3 separate regions of the Homo sapiens genome follow, and regions 2 and 3 are each linked to region 1. The links are contacts of gene promoters, found by promoter capture Hi-C in human tissues and cell types (Jung and others, 2019). All regions are on one chromosome and are shown on one strand. Each heading gives the region's core, a stretch centred on a gene start or on the middle of the fragment in contact. The rest is flanking DNA. Distances are from core to core; before and after follow the strand shown. Region 1 holds the start of NPTXR (neuronal pentraxin receptor). Region 2 has its middle 27 kb from the start of SNORD83B. Region 3 overlaps CBX7 (chromobox 7).

What was found. The method cuts DNA at HindIII sites, captures the fragments that hold promoters and counts their contacts. A contact is called where the count stands out against the background at its distance.
Region 2: a fragment that was not itself captured here is called in contact with the fragment with the promoter of NPTXR in region 1 in 1 of the 25 tissues and cell types used here (dorsolateral prefrontal cortex).
Region 3: a contact is called between a fragment that was not itself captured here and the fragment with the promoter of NPTXR in region 1, in 1 of the 25 tissues and cell types used here (pancreas).

Annotation. Positions count from the first base shown.
Region 1 is chr22:38,842,358-38,846,228 of GRCh38, reverse strand. It overlaps NPTXR (neuronal pentraxin receptor), which reads left to right and starts at 2,201. Exons shown (of 5, transcript NM_014293.4): 1 at 2,201-2,994. The coding sequence starts at 2,371. RefSeq lists a silencer at 2,613-2,682. The HindIII fragment of the contact is 15,093 bases long and covers 1-3,871 here.
Region 2 is chr22:39,284,808-39,288,678 of GRCh38, reverse strand. No RefSeq gene overlaps it. Among named protein-coding and RNA genes, the nearest start is that of SNORD83B, 27 kb to the left of the region's middle. The HindIII fragment of the contact is 9,215 bases long and covers 1-3,871 here.
Region 3 is chr22:39,134,733-39,138,603 of GRCh38, reverse strand. It overlaps CBX7 (chromobox 7), which reads left to right. Exons shown (of 6, transcript NM_175709.5): 5 at 3,852-3,871. Among named protein-coding and RNA genes, the nearest start is that of CBX7, 16 kb to the left of the region's middle. RefSeq lists enhancers at 2,525-3,502, 3,609-3,871. The HindIII fragment of the contact is 3,206 bases long and covers 263-3,468 here.

The sequences.
Region 1 (3,871 bases), core at 952-3,451:
AAGGAAGAAGGGAGAGGCTGGGCGCCATGGCTCACGCCTGTAATCCCAGCACTTTGGGAGGCCGAGGCAGGTGGATCACCTGAGGTCAGGAGTTCAAGACCAGCCTGGCCAACATATTGAAACTCCATCTCTACTAAAAATACAAAAATTAGCTGGGCGTGGTGGCGTGCACCTGTAGTCCCAGCTACTTGGGAGACTGAGGCAGGAGAATTGCTTGAACCCGCAAGGCAGAGGTTCCAGTGAGCCGAGATCACGCCACCGCACTGCAGCCTGGGTGACAGAGCAAGACTCTGTCTCAAAAATAAAATAAAATAAAAAATAAAGTCATTCTAGGAGATCAACAGACCAGTTTAAACACAATTTGACTCCAGCCTCTGGACCCATTTATCCAAACTGTCCCCAAAGTCTCAGGGGGCAGCTCAGGTAAAGGTGGCACCATTTGGTGCCCAAGTCACAGTGGCTCTGCTGCTCTTGGCAGCAGCCCTCTCTCTTGGCATCTCCTGTCCTTCCCTGGACTTCCTATGACAGTTTCTCCTGGGGATGCTATCTCCGTGTTTCTGTCTTCACGGCACACGTGTAGATGTACCAGGAGTCCCGATGTCTCATGCATCCCCAGGACTTTAGCAGGGCCTACCGCTGGCCTTTGCCTTCCAAGAGCCCAGCCCATCTCTCTGTCCATGAGATGCTTCCTCCAAGCCCAGCTGCCTGCCCTGGGTTTTGAGGTTACGACTTCAGTGAGCACCAGCACACATCCACGCACACACAGCACTCAGGTTCCTGGCATACAGCGCTTGTGTTTGCTTCTCTCCTCTTTCACAACTCAGGTATGGATGAAAATCCCTGGCTCCTAGAGATGGGTGAACAGGGTGGACATCATCCTAACATGTGTGGAGAGAGGGAGGTGGAGCACGTGTGCCTGGGAACACTGGACAAAATCCCCGTGGCTGGAGAGCGTCCCCCAGGGTTGTGGCTTCCTGGGAAACATTCCGGTCTCTCCCCACCACCAGCGCTATGTGAAGTACACTCGAAACCACAGTGGTAGCCGTGGTGGTCCAGAGATCCTGGTTTGCGCTTTCCCTTCAAGTCAAAAATGCAGGCTTGGAAGGGAGACAGAGCTGGGAATAACCACAGCCCTCCCAAGGCCCTTCCAGCCCTGGGAATCCGTATTGGTCAGGAAAGACCTCATGGAAAATTGGAGCTGGGGATAAAGTGTGGAGGATAGTAGGATTGTTTTTAAGTTTTTAATTGCAAAGTTAATTTTCAACAAAATATATATAGACATTTTTGACAGAAGAAAGTAAAACGCTCCTCTGCCACCCCCACAGCACAGCCCACTCCCATTCCTGCTGTTCCTTCTGGGCCTGGTCCACATGCCCACCAGGCACGTGGCACCGCTTGCCAACGAAGGCAGACTGCAGTGGGGGTGGGGGGTTTCTCTGGACCTGTGAGGCTCTAAGCCCCCAAGGATTCAGAGGAGAGAATTTCCATCATCCTCTGAGATCACAGGAAGATTCTGTAATGAGGGTGGCGGGGAGTGAACTCTGCTCCTTCAGAAGGTTGGAGGTGGGGGTGACGGGCAGGTGGCCACAGTATAAACAGAAGTTAGGTCAAAATCCGAGCCTCCCCCCAACCCCCAACACTGGCCTCTTCTCCACCTCTAACCGCTCCCACTCCAGCCCCATCCACAGTCTGGTCCGGTGAAACGTGCCTAAGCTCGCAGGCGGCTCCAACGCAGCCACCCGGTGACCTTGGACAGAGGCCTGACCTCAGGTGTCTCAGTTTCCTCATTTCTATTGTGAGCCTGTCCACGGCAAGGCTCAATTGCGACCGAGCTTGTGGCGCGCCCAGTGCACAGCCCCACCCGGAAGAAAGCTCCCTCCCGGGTGGATGTGAACATAACCGGCTTGGGGAGGGGGCCCGAGCACGGGAGGGCTGGGATGGGGGTCACCCAGGAGCCCCGCCGCGCGGCCCTCGGGTCGCCGGCCCCTGCGCTGTGACCGCGGCGAGATAAGGTCCCAGGCGCTGCCCTCGCTCCTCGCCGCATCCCCGGCGGCGCCCCCAGCCGGGCGCCCGGCACTGAACGGGTGCGGGGCTGGGCCGGGGCCAGGGCCGGCCCGGGGAAGCGAGTGGGGCGGGGCCGCCGCGCCCGCTCCCCCTCCCCGCCGCCTGCCGTCTTCTCCTCCTCCCGCCGCCCGGGCTCAGAGCGGCGGCAGCAGCGGCCGCGGCGACAGCTCCAGCTCCGGCTCCGGCTCCGGCTCCGGCTCCGGCTCCCGCGCCTGCCCCGCTCGGCCCAGCGCGCCCGGGCTCCGCGCCCCGACCCCGCCGCCGCGCCTGCCGGGGGCCTCGGGCGCCCCCGCCGCCCGCCTCACGCTGAAGTTCCTGGCCGTGCTGCTGGCCGCGGGCATGCTGGCGTTCCTCGGTGCCGTCATCTGCATCATCGCCAGCGTGCCCCTGGCGGCCAGCCCGGCGCGGGCGCTGCCCGGCGGCGCCGACAATGCTTCGGTCGCCTCGGGCGCCGCCGCGTCCCCGGGCCCGCAGCGGAGCCTGAGCGCGCTGCACGGCGCGGGCGGTTCAGCCGGGCCCCCCGCGCTGCCCGGGGCACCCGCGGCCAGCGCGCACCCGCTGCCGCCCGGGCCCCTGTTCAGCCGCTTCCTGTGCACGCCGCTGGCTGCTGCCTGCCCGTCGGGGGCCCAGCAGGGGGACGCGGCGGGCGCTGCGCCGGGCGAGCGCGAAGAGCTGCTGCTGCTGCAGAGCACGGCCGAGCAGCTGCGCCAGACGGCGCTGCAGCAGGAGGCGCGCATCCGCGCCGACCAGGACACCATCCGTGAGCTCACCGGCAAGCTGGGCCGCTGCGAGAGCGGCCTGCCGCGCGGCCTCCAGGGCGCCGGGCCCCGCCGCGACACCATGGCCGACGGGCCCTGGGACTCGCCTGCGCTCATTCTGGAGCTGGAGGACGCCGTGCGCGCCCTGCGGGACCGCATCGACCGCCTGGAGGTGAGCGCCGCGCGCCGTCGGGGGAGCCGCCCGGGTGGTGTGAGGGGCCGCCCGGCCGCGGTCGTCCGGCGGTCCCCGAGCCTCCGGTCTCCCGTCTGTGTTCCGGGGACGATCGCGCCTTCCTCGCTGGCGAGGCGGGGGGATTTCGATAGGGAACGCGGGCAGGCGTCTGGCACGGTGACTGAGGCACAGAGGGCGCGCCAGAAAGATTCGCTCCCCACCCTTTTCCGTCTCCAGGCACCTCTCTGAGCCTCAGTTTCTGTGTCTGTAAAATAGGTATAACAGTGTCCACTTGTAGTGGAAATTGAATCAAATGTAGGTGTGTGAAAATGCTTGGCACGTACTAGGACCTCATTAAATGTCCCTTTCATTTCCTTCTTCCGGACACCCCCAAATCAGCCCAGCTCCACGCTCACACTTTATGGCCAGGAGATGGATGCGCTGTCCAAAGGACTTGGGGTCCTCCCCTCATTACACAGAGCCGGGAACAGAGTGCCCTATAAGACAAACCTGGGTGCCCCTCACCACCTCCCTACCCTGAATCTCCCACTCTGGCTCAGACTATGACCCAAACCGCAGGAGCTCAGGTGCCAGGCGCCCAGCCTCACACACCTGGAAGCCCACAGCTCTTGGGTGGGGGCTGAATGGAGAACAGGGCCCCCCGAGCTCCTCCTCCTCCACTCACTTTTCCAGGCTTTCCTGACTCAGGCTTGGGGTCAGACACAAGGGGTCCAGCATGGGGGAACCCACTCTTGGCTCTCATGTGACCCTGGGCCAGTCATTTCCCCCCTGGAGTCCCATGGCCACCTTCCTCCCTGTAAGAATGAATTTGGGGCTCCCAGAAGTGCAAGGCAGACAGACTGGGCAGGACAAACAT
Region 2 (3,871 bases), core at 527-3,026, 440 kb before region 1:
CACCATCTGGAGGCCTGAGGATGCCACAGCAACTTCCAGCCTGGTCAGCAGGGCAGGTATCAGAGGCGTCCACCCTGCCATGCTGACGATTTCCACCTCATTGCCGAGGGGCCCCCTGGGCCTCCCAGAAAACTGGAGTCATTGACCCTGGGAGGCAGAGGATCTTTGAAGACAACTTGTCTTCTGGGATTTTAGAACTTTTTGAAAGTTAAAATGAGGTCAGACACAGTGACTCATGCCTGTAATCCCAGCACTTTGGGAGGCTGAGGTGGGAGGATCGCTTGAGGCCAGGAGTTCCAGACTAGAATGGGCAACATAGTGAGACCCTGTCTCTAAAATAATTTTAAAAATTAGCCAAGCGTGGTGGTGCATACCTGAAATCCTAGCTACTTGGGAGGCTGAAGAGGGAGGATCGCTTGAGCCCAGGAGTTTGAGACCAGCCTGGGCAACAGAGTGAGACTCCATCACTACAAAAAATAAATTAAAGAAAATTAGCCGAGTGTGGTGGCGAATGTCTATAGTTTCAGCTACTCAGCAGGGCTGCGGTGGGAGGATCATTTGAACCCAGGAGGCCAAGGCTGCAGTGAGCCATGACTGTGCCACTGCACTCCAGCCTGGGTAACAGACACCCTGTCTCAAAAAAAAAAAAAAAAAAAATTAACCCATTTATGCCTTAAGTTGCAATTTTTAAAACTTTTGCAATCAGACCTTGGCAATGACCTTGAGAAGGAGGACAGAAATAATTCCCAATAATGGAACACTAGGCATAAATGAAATGATACACAAATAATACACAGGTCCAGAAACACACCCTCCTTGCAGCAGGACCAAATGATGGAGAAGACACATTGGCCTTCCACATTGTTGTGGGTTGAAAAGGATCTCCCCAAAATTCATGTCTATTCTGCACCTCAGAACGTGACCTTATTTGGAATAAGGATTTTTGCAGATGTAATTAGAGTATGGATCTCAGAATGAGGTCACCCTGGGTTGGGGTGGATCCTAAATCCAGTTAGAGTGTTCTTACAAGAGAAAGGGATGGGAGATTTGCAAACAGAGACTCAGGAGAGGAAAGGGCCCTGTGAAGTCAGAGGCAGGGATTGAACAGTGCGGTCACAGGCCAAGGAACCCGGGAGTCCCCAGAAGCTGAAAGATTGCCCCCTGGAGCTGTGGAGGCAGCATGGCCCTGTAGACACCTTGATTTTGGACTTCTAGCCTCCAGAGCTATGAGAATAAATGCCTGTTATTTCCACCACCAAGTGTATGGTAATTTATTACAGGAAACCAGTAGACACCTGCCCCACGGCCCTGCTCCGTCTGCAGCTCCTCCCTCCAGGGTTCCTCTCTGCTCTCCACACATGACTGTGGCATGCTGAATGCAGAAGTTTTGTTTTGAAATGTGGTGTTTTGAATGCAGAAGTTTTGTCTGTTGAATGCAGAAGTTTCATAGGCACATACCAGACGCGGTGTTCCGTAAACGTTCCATAAATTGCTCTGGCCATTGGTGCAGATGGGGGCAGCTCCCAGTTTTCCTTGGTTACACAAGAAGCCACTGTGAACACTTTTGCCTTGTCTCTTCTGCACATGCTTGATGACTTCTGGAGGCTGGAAGATTCCTTAGAAGGAGAATTGCTGGGTCAAAGGGTAAGCCCGTTTGCAATTTGACTGATGCTGTCAAATAGAGTCAAAACAGAAACTCAGAATCTTAAGAAGGAGAGAAGGTTTGGTGCAGTGGCTCATGCCTGTAATCCTTGCACTTCGGGAGGCCAAGGTGCAAGGATCGCTTGAGCCCAGGAGTTTAAGGCCAGTCTGGGCAACACAGGGAGACCTCGTCTCTATAAAAAATACAAAAGTTAGCCAGGTGTGGTGGCGCATGCCTGTAGTCCCAGCTACTTGGGAGGCCGAGGTGGGAAGATCACTTGAGCTCAGGAGTTCACAGCTGCAGTGAGCCATGGTTGCACCACTGCTATTCAGCCTTGGTGACACAGTGAGACCCTATCTCAAAATAAATAAATAAATAAGAAAAAGAGAAGCAGGGAAACAGACTTTTGGATTTTACAGCATGGGACACTTCCAACCCCAGAATTATAAAACTTCAGGAGAGGGGACCTCAGGAGAACATCTATTCTGGGGTCTCACTTCAGGACCCAGGAGTGACATCTTCCAAGCCCTGTCTGGGTTTCTGTTTCCCTGGAATGGGCTTGGAGAAAGCAGAGGAGATAGGACCCAGGAGCCTGGAACTCTGGGGCTCCAAGGGAGCTCTGGCAGGGGGTGAGTGAAATGCCTTCCCCACCTGGGCACCCAGCTCTTCTACCCAGAGGCTGCCCCTTTCCAGCCGAGGTGCCAGGCCAGCTGGGCCTCTGTAGCTGCACACAGTGGCCCCTCTGTGCTTGGCACACACACACAAAAATGTGAACAGAGCCTGTAATCCCAGCACTTTGGGAGGCCGAGGCAGGTGGATCCCTTGAGACCAGGAGTTCAAGACCAGCCTGGAGAACATGGTTAAACTCCGTCTCTACAAAAAATACGTGAAAAAAGAAATTAGCTGGGTGTGGTGGTGCATGTCTATGGTTCCAGCTACTGGGGAGGCTGAGGTAGGAGGATTGCTTGAGCTGGGGTGGTTGAGGCTGCCATGAGCCAAGATTGTGCCTCTGCCCTCCAGCTTGGGTGACAGAGTGAGACCATCTCAAAAAAAAAGAAAGAAGAAAGAAAGAAGAAGAAAGAAAGAGAGAGAGAGAAAAAAAGAAAGAAAGAAAGAAAAAAGGAAAGAAAAGGAAAAGAAAAGAAAAAAGCCAGGTACGGCAGCTCACGCCTGTAATTACAGCATTTTGGGAGGCCGAGGTGGGCAGATCACAAGGTCAGGAGTTCAAGACCAGCCTGGCCAACATAGTGAAATCCCATCTCTACTAAAAATACAAAAAAAAAAAAAAAAAAAAAAATTAGCCGGGTTTGGTGGTGGACACCTGTAATCCCAGCTACTGGGGAGGCTAAGGCAGGAGAATCACTTGAACCTGGAAGGCAGAGGTTGCAATGAGCCGAGATAGTGCCACTGCACTCCAGCTCGGACAACAGTGTGAGACTGTCTCAAAAAAAAAAAAAAAAAAAAAAAGAAAGAAAGAAAAAAATGTAAAGGAAATGAGCAGGGGTGGGTGGGGTGGTCTATGGTCTGCACTAGGCTGACTTGTGGCCCTGGCTGGAGTTCTGAGGTCTGGAACAGGGCAGGAGGCTCTGCATTAGATACTGGTCGCCTGCCTTGGAGTCCCCTCCATTCTTATTCTGGTGGTTTTAGAACATGCTCTTCCCCCAATTATTTGACACTCCTCTTCTTGAAAGATGGGAGTCTATGTCCTTTTTCCTTGAATCTGGGCTCCGTGGATGCTTGATCAATATGTTGCCAGTGAGGCTGTGTCAGTTTCTGGACCCAGGCCATAAAAAACTGCAACTTCTACTTCCCACCTCTTGGGACTCAGCCACCATGCTGTGAGGAAGCTCAACAGCCCCATGGAAAGGCCGGTGTGGGAAGGAACAGAGGACCCTCTACCCCTGCCAGCTGTCAGCCCCAGTAGAGCCAATGGGACCTCCAGCTCCCACTCAAGTTGCCCCAGCTGATGCCTCATAGAGCAGTGCTGTGCCTTCTTGCGGCATCTGGCTTGACTTGCAGATCTGTGAGAGAAACAAATGATTGCTCTTGTTTTAAGCCACTAAATTTTGGGATCATTTGCAGCATAGCAATGGATAACTGGAACACCCTCCATGACCAACAAAGTCGCCACCAGTGCCTGCAGGCTGGGTTAAGAACACGGGCTTTGGGATCAGACTCACCAGCCATATGTCAAGGCCCGTCTTTGCCTCAAGGGCTTCATCTGCACAT
Region 3 (3,871 bases), core at 616-3,115, 290 kb before region 1:
CCCTGCCCAACCCCAAGTCCCCCTCTGCCCCTTGGTGCATTTGCACTGGCTGATTGAGCTGATCTGTGTCCCCTCGCCTGTACCACCCAGGGCACTGTGGGGTGGGGCACTTGGGTAAGTTTTGATGGGAGGAATTGGGAAAAGCCTGCGTGTGGGGCTGGTGCCCGGGGAAGACAGCCTGGGTGGGCGGTGCCACCTGGGAGGGGGAGTAGGCATATGGCCAGTGGAATCCTAGAATTCTCAAAGCTTAGAATCTTGCTGTAAGGAAGCCCTGAAAGCTTTGAGCCTTTCGATGCTCAGAATCCCTAAACACAAAATTATCACTGAGAATCTCAGAAACATAAACTTGAGAATTGAGGAAACATGAGAGGCTGGAGTTTCAGAATCTAAGAAACAGAATCTTTTTTTTTTTTTTTTTTTTGAGACGGAGTCTCGCTCTGTCGCTCAGGCTGGAGTGCAGTGGCGCGCGATCTTGGCTCACTGCAAGCTCCACCTCCCGGGTTCACGCCATTCTCCTGCCTCAGCCTCCCCAGTAGCTGGGACTACAGGCGCCCGCCACCACGCCTGGCTAAATTTTTGTATTTTTAGCAGAGACGGGGTTTCACCGTGTTGGCCAGGATGGTCTCGATCTCCTGACCTCATGATCCGCCCGGCTTGGCCTCCCAAAGTGCTGGGATTACAGGCGTGAGCCACCGCGCCCAGCCAGAAACAGAATCTTAGAATTGTAGAACTACAGCCTTGGAATGTCAGACCCCTAGAAGTGTGTCATTTTTGAGTGGGCCTCCTGTTCCAGCCTTCAGTCAGTTGGGGACCCAAGTCTCTGCAGCATCCCGGAGTACCCACGTCGTAGGTCTTGGGGGCCTTTCCTGACCTCAGTGCTTTGCAGTGACAGGGACGTGGATCTTGGAGCAGTGCAGTCACAGGTTGAGTCTCCCTGATCCAAAATCCAAAATGCTGCCATGTGCGGTGGCTCATGCCTGTAATCCCAACACTTTGGGAGGCCGAGGCGGGTGGATCACCTGAGGTCAGAAGTTCAAAACCAGCCTGGCCAACATGGTGAAAACCTGTCTCTACTAAAAATACAAAAATTAGCTGGGGATGGTGGCGGGCACCTGTAATCCCAGCTACTCAGGGGGCTGAGACAGGACAGTCACTTGAGCCCGGGAGGTGGAGGTTGCAGGGAGCCAAGATCATACCATTGCACTCCAGCCTGGGTGATAAGAGTGAAACTCCGTCCCCTGCCGCCCCGCCCCCCCACCCCAACAAGAAAAACAAGATCTGAAATGCTCCAGAATCCAAAACATTTTGAGCACCAAAATGATGTTCAAAGGAAGTGTTCATTGGAGCAGTCTAAATTTCAGATTTTTGGATTGGGGATGCTCAGCTAGTATATATAATGCAAATATTCCAAAATCCTAAAAAAATTCGAAGTCTGAAACACTTCTGGTTCCAAGCATTTCGGATAAGGAATGCTCTGCCTGTGTGTGGTTGTAGGTAAGCCTCTTCACCTGTAAAATGGGTATGAAGAGAATACCCGCTCTCCTTAATGTAATAAGACCCACCAGGCAGGATATTGGAAGCCAGAAAGTCAGGATTCTTGGTCCACTTGTATGTGGTCCATGTCAAGCGTCCTTGGCCACTCCTGATTAAAACCCATGGAGGCTTTCGCCAGAGGGGGTGGGCCTCCCTTCATGCAGTGGGCATGTTCCATTGGGTTTGGCATGAATTGAGCCTAGGAAGGGAAGTAACATCTCCTGGACGTCTGTGTGCCAGGCTGTCTGCCCAGTGTGCCTCACAGATGAATATACTCCATCCACATACTAAGCCTACAGGGCAGGTGTGTTCGTTATCTCTTCCCCTCTAACATGGCAACTCAAAGCAATAAACATTGATTATTTCACATGGCTTCTGGGGGTCAGGAATTTGGAATTGTGCTAGCTGGTTCTTCAGTGGTTCTAGTCTGGGCTGCAGTCAAGGTGTTGGCTGGGCTGCAGTCATCTGCAGGCTCGACCAGGGCTGCGGGATCTGCCTCCGAGGGGGCTGCTCACGTGCCATCGAGTCAGGGCTGGACGTTGACAGGGACTGGTCCTCACCATGTGGACCTCTCCAGAGGGTTGCTTGAGTGTCCTTACAGTGCAGCCACCAGCTTCCCAGAGTGGGTGACCTGAGAGAGAGAGCAGGGAAGAAGCCACAGTGTCTTTTATGCCCTAGCCTGGGAAGTCACACAACACAGCACTGGGTGTGGGAATGGACGGCGCATAGGTGTGAATTCCAGGAGGTGGGTGTGGTTGGGGCCCTCCTCGGAGGCTGGCTCCTACAGTCTCTTCATTGTTTCGCTGAGAAAGAAACTGAGGCCCAGGGAGGCCGGTAGCTTACCCAGGACCTGACTGTTGGCACCCGCGTCCCTTTAGTAGCTGTAGTTCTCTCGTGATGAGGTTGCCAAGGACGTAGAAGACCCTGCCTTGCAGAATGGTAGAATGTACTGGGCTTCTTTTTTTTTTTTTTTTTTTTTCCCAGACAGAGTCTCGCTCTGTCGCCCAGGCTGGAATACAGTGGTGCGATCTCTGCTCACTGCAAGCTCTGCCTTCTGGGTTCAAATGATTGTCCTGCCTTAGCCTCCCAAGTAGCTGGGATTACAGGCACCTGCCACCACACCCGGCTAATTTTTGTATTTTTAGTAGAGATGGGGTTTCGCCATGTTGGCCAGGCTGGCCTTGAACTCCTGACCTCTGGTGATCCAGCTGCCTCGGCCTCCTAAAGTGTTGGGATTACAGGCGTGAGCCACTGTGCCTGGCCCATACTAGGCTTCTGATGGCCTGTGAGCCCGCTGGGAGGAGTGGGTTTTGAGTCAGCTGCCTACCAGATGTGCCTCCCAGGCACTGCAGTATTTTCCCAGTCCCCTCCCAGTTTAGCCCTCCTCCCATCACTGCAGCAGCCGGCACCTGGGGACATGTGATGCCGTTAACAGGCACGACTGTGAGTGGGACCTGCGTGTGTCATCCCTTCCCTCAGCTTGGAGGTGTTTGACCTCACAGGTCCCATCTGATGGCTGCACTATCTTCCTGGGAGCTCCTGACCTCTGGTAGCAGGTGGCAGGAGAAGGTACTGTCCCAGTGATCCAGAGTCTCCCAACATCTTGGCACCATGAATCTTTTGTAGATTCATGTAAATTCTCCCCAAGTAAATAAGATAAATCCCGACATTACAAACTCCAGGGGTGGACAGACTTGCCCTCCAGCTCCAGATGTGTCGCGGGCAATCAGCAGAGCGGGCTGCAATCACAGAGCCCAGGAGCCCCCTGGAGGGGTCGGGGTGCATCTGCAGGCCAGGTGGAGCCCTGTCCCTTTGGCTGGATAGCATGGGCATCCGGGGCTGTGTGTGCTGCTGGCCTGGCTTTGCCCCAAGCAACTCCAAGAGCACACCTTGGCCCTCTGCCTGCACCATCTCCCGGGTGAGCTGGCAGTGTCAGTTTTGGAGGTGCTCTGGCAAGCAAAGATGCCTTTCCTAAAACGAAGGCTAACTCCTTAATGCATCCAGATTTGTTTCTCTTGGCCAGTTTTCAGTTTGTCCTTCTTGTATGCTTCTCTGCTGGGTATCAAAGGAGTAAACGCTGGGACGCGAGTGCTCTGTGGGGCCCAGAGGCAGGGCTGAGCTGGCCGACCCTGGGGTTGCCCGGGGCGCACTCTCTGGGCTGGGGTGGGGTGGGGTGATGGCCAGCCGTGGCATGGGAAGGAGTTGAGTGGGTAGACATGGCATGGGAAGGGCATTCCGGGTGGGAGGAACAGCATGAGCAAAGGTGTGGCGGGTGGGAGGGTGGGGCTGACCCGCGCTGCCCTGGCTTGCCCCCGCAGCGGCTGTACAGCATGGACCT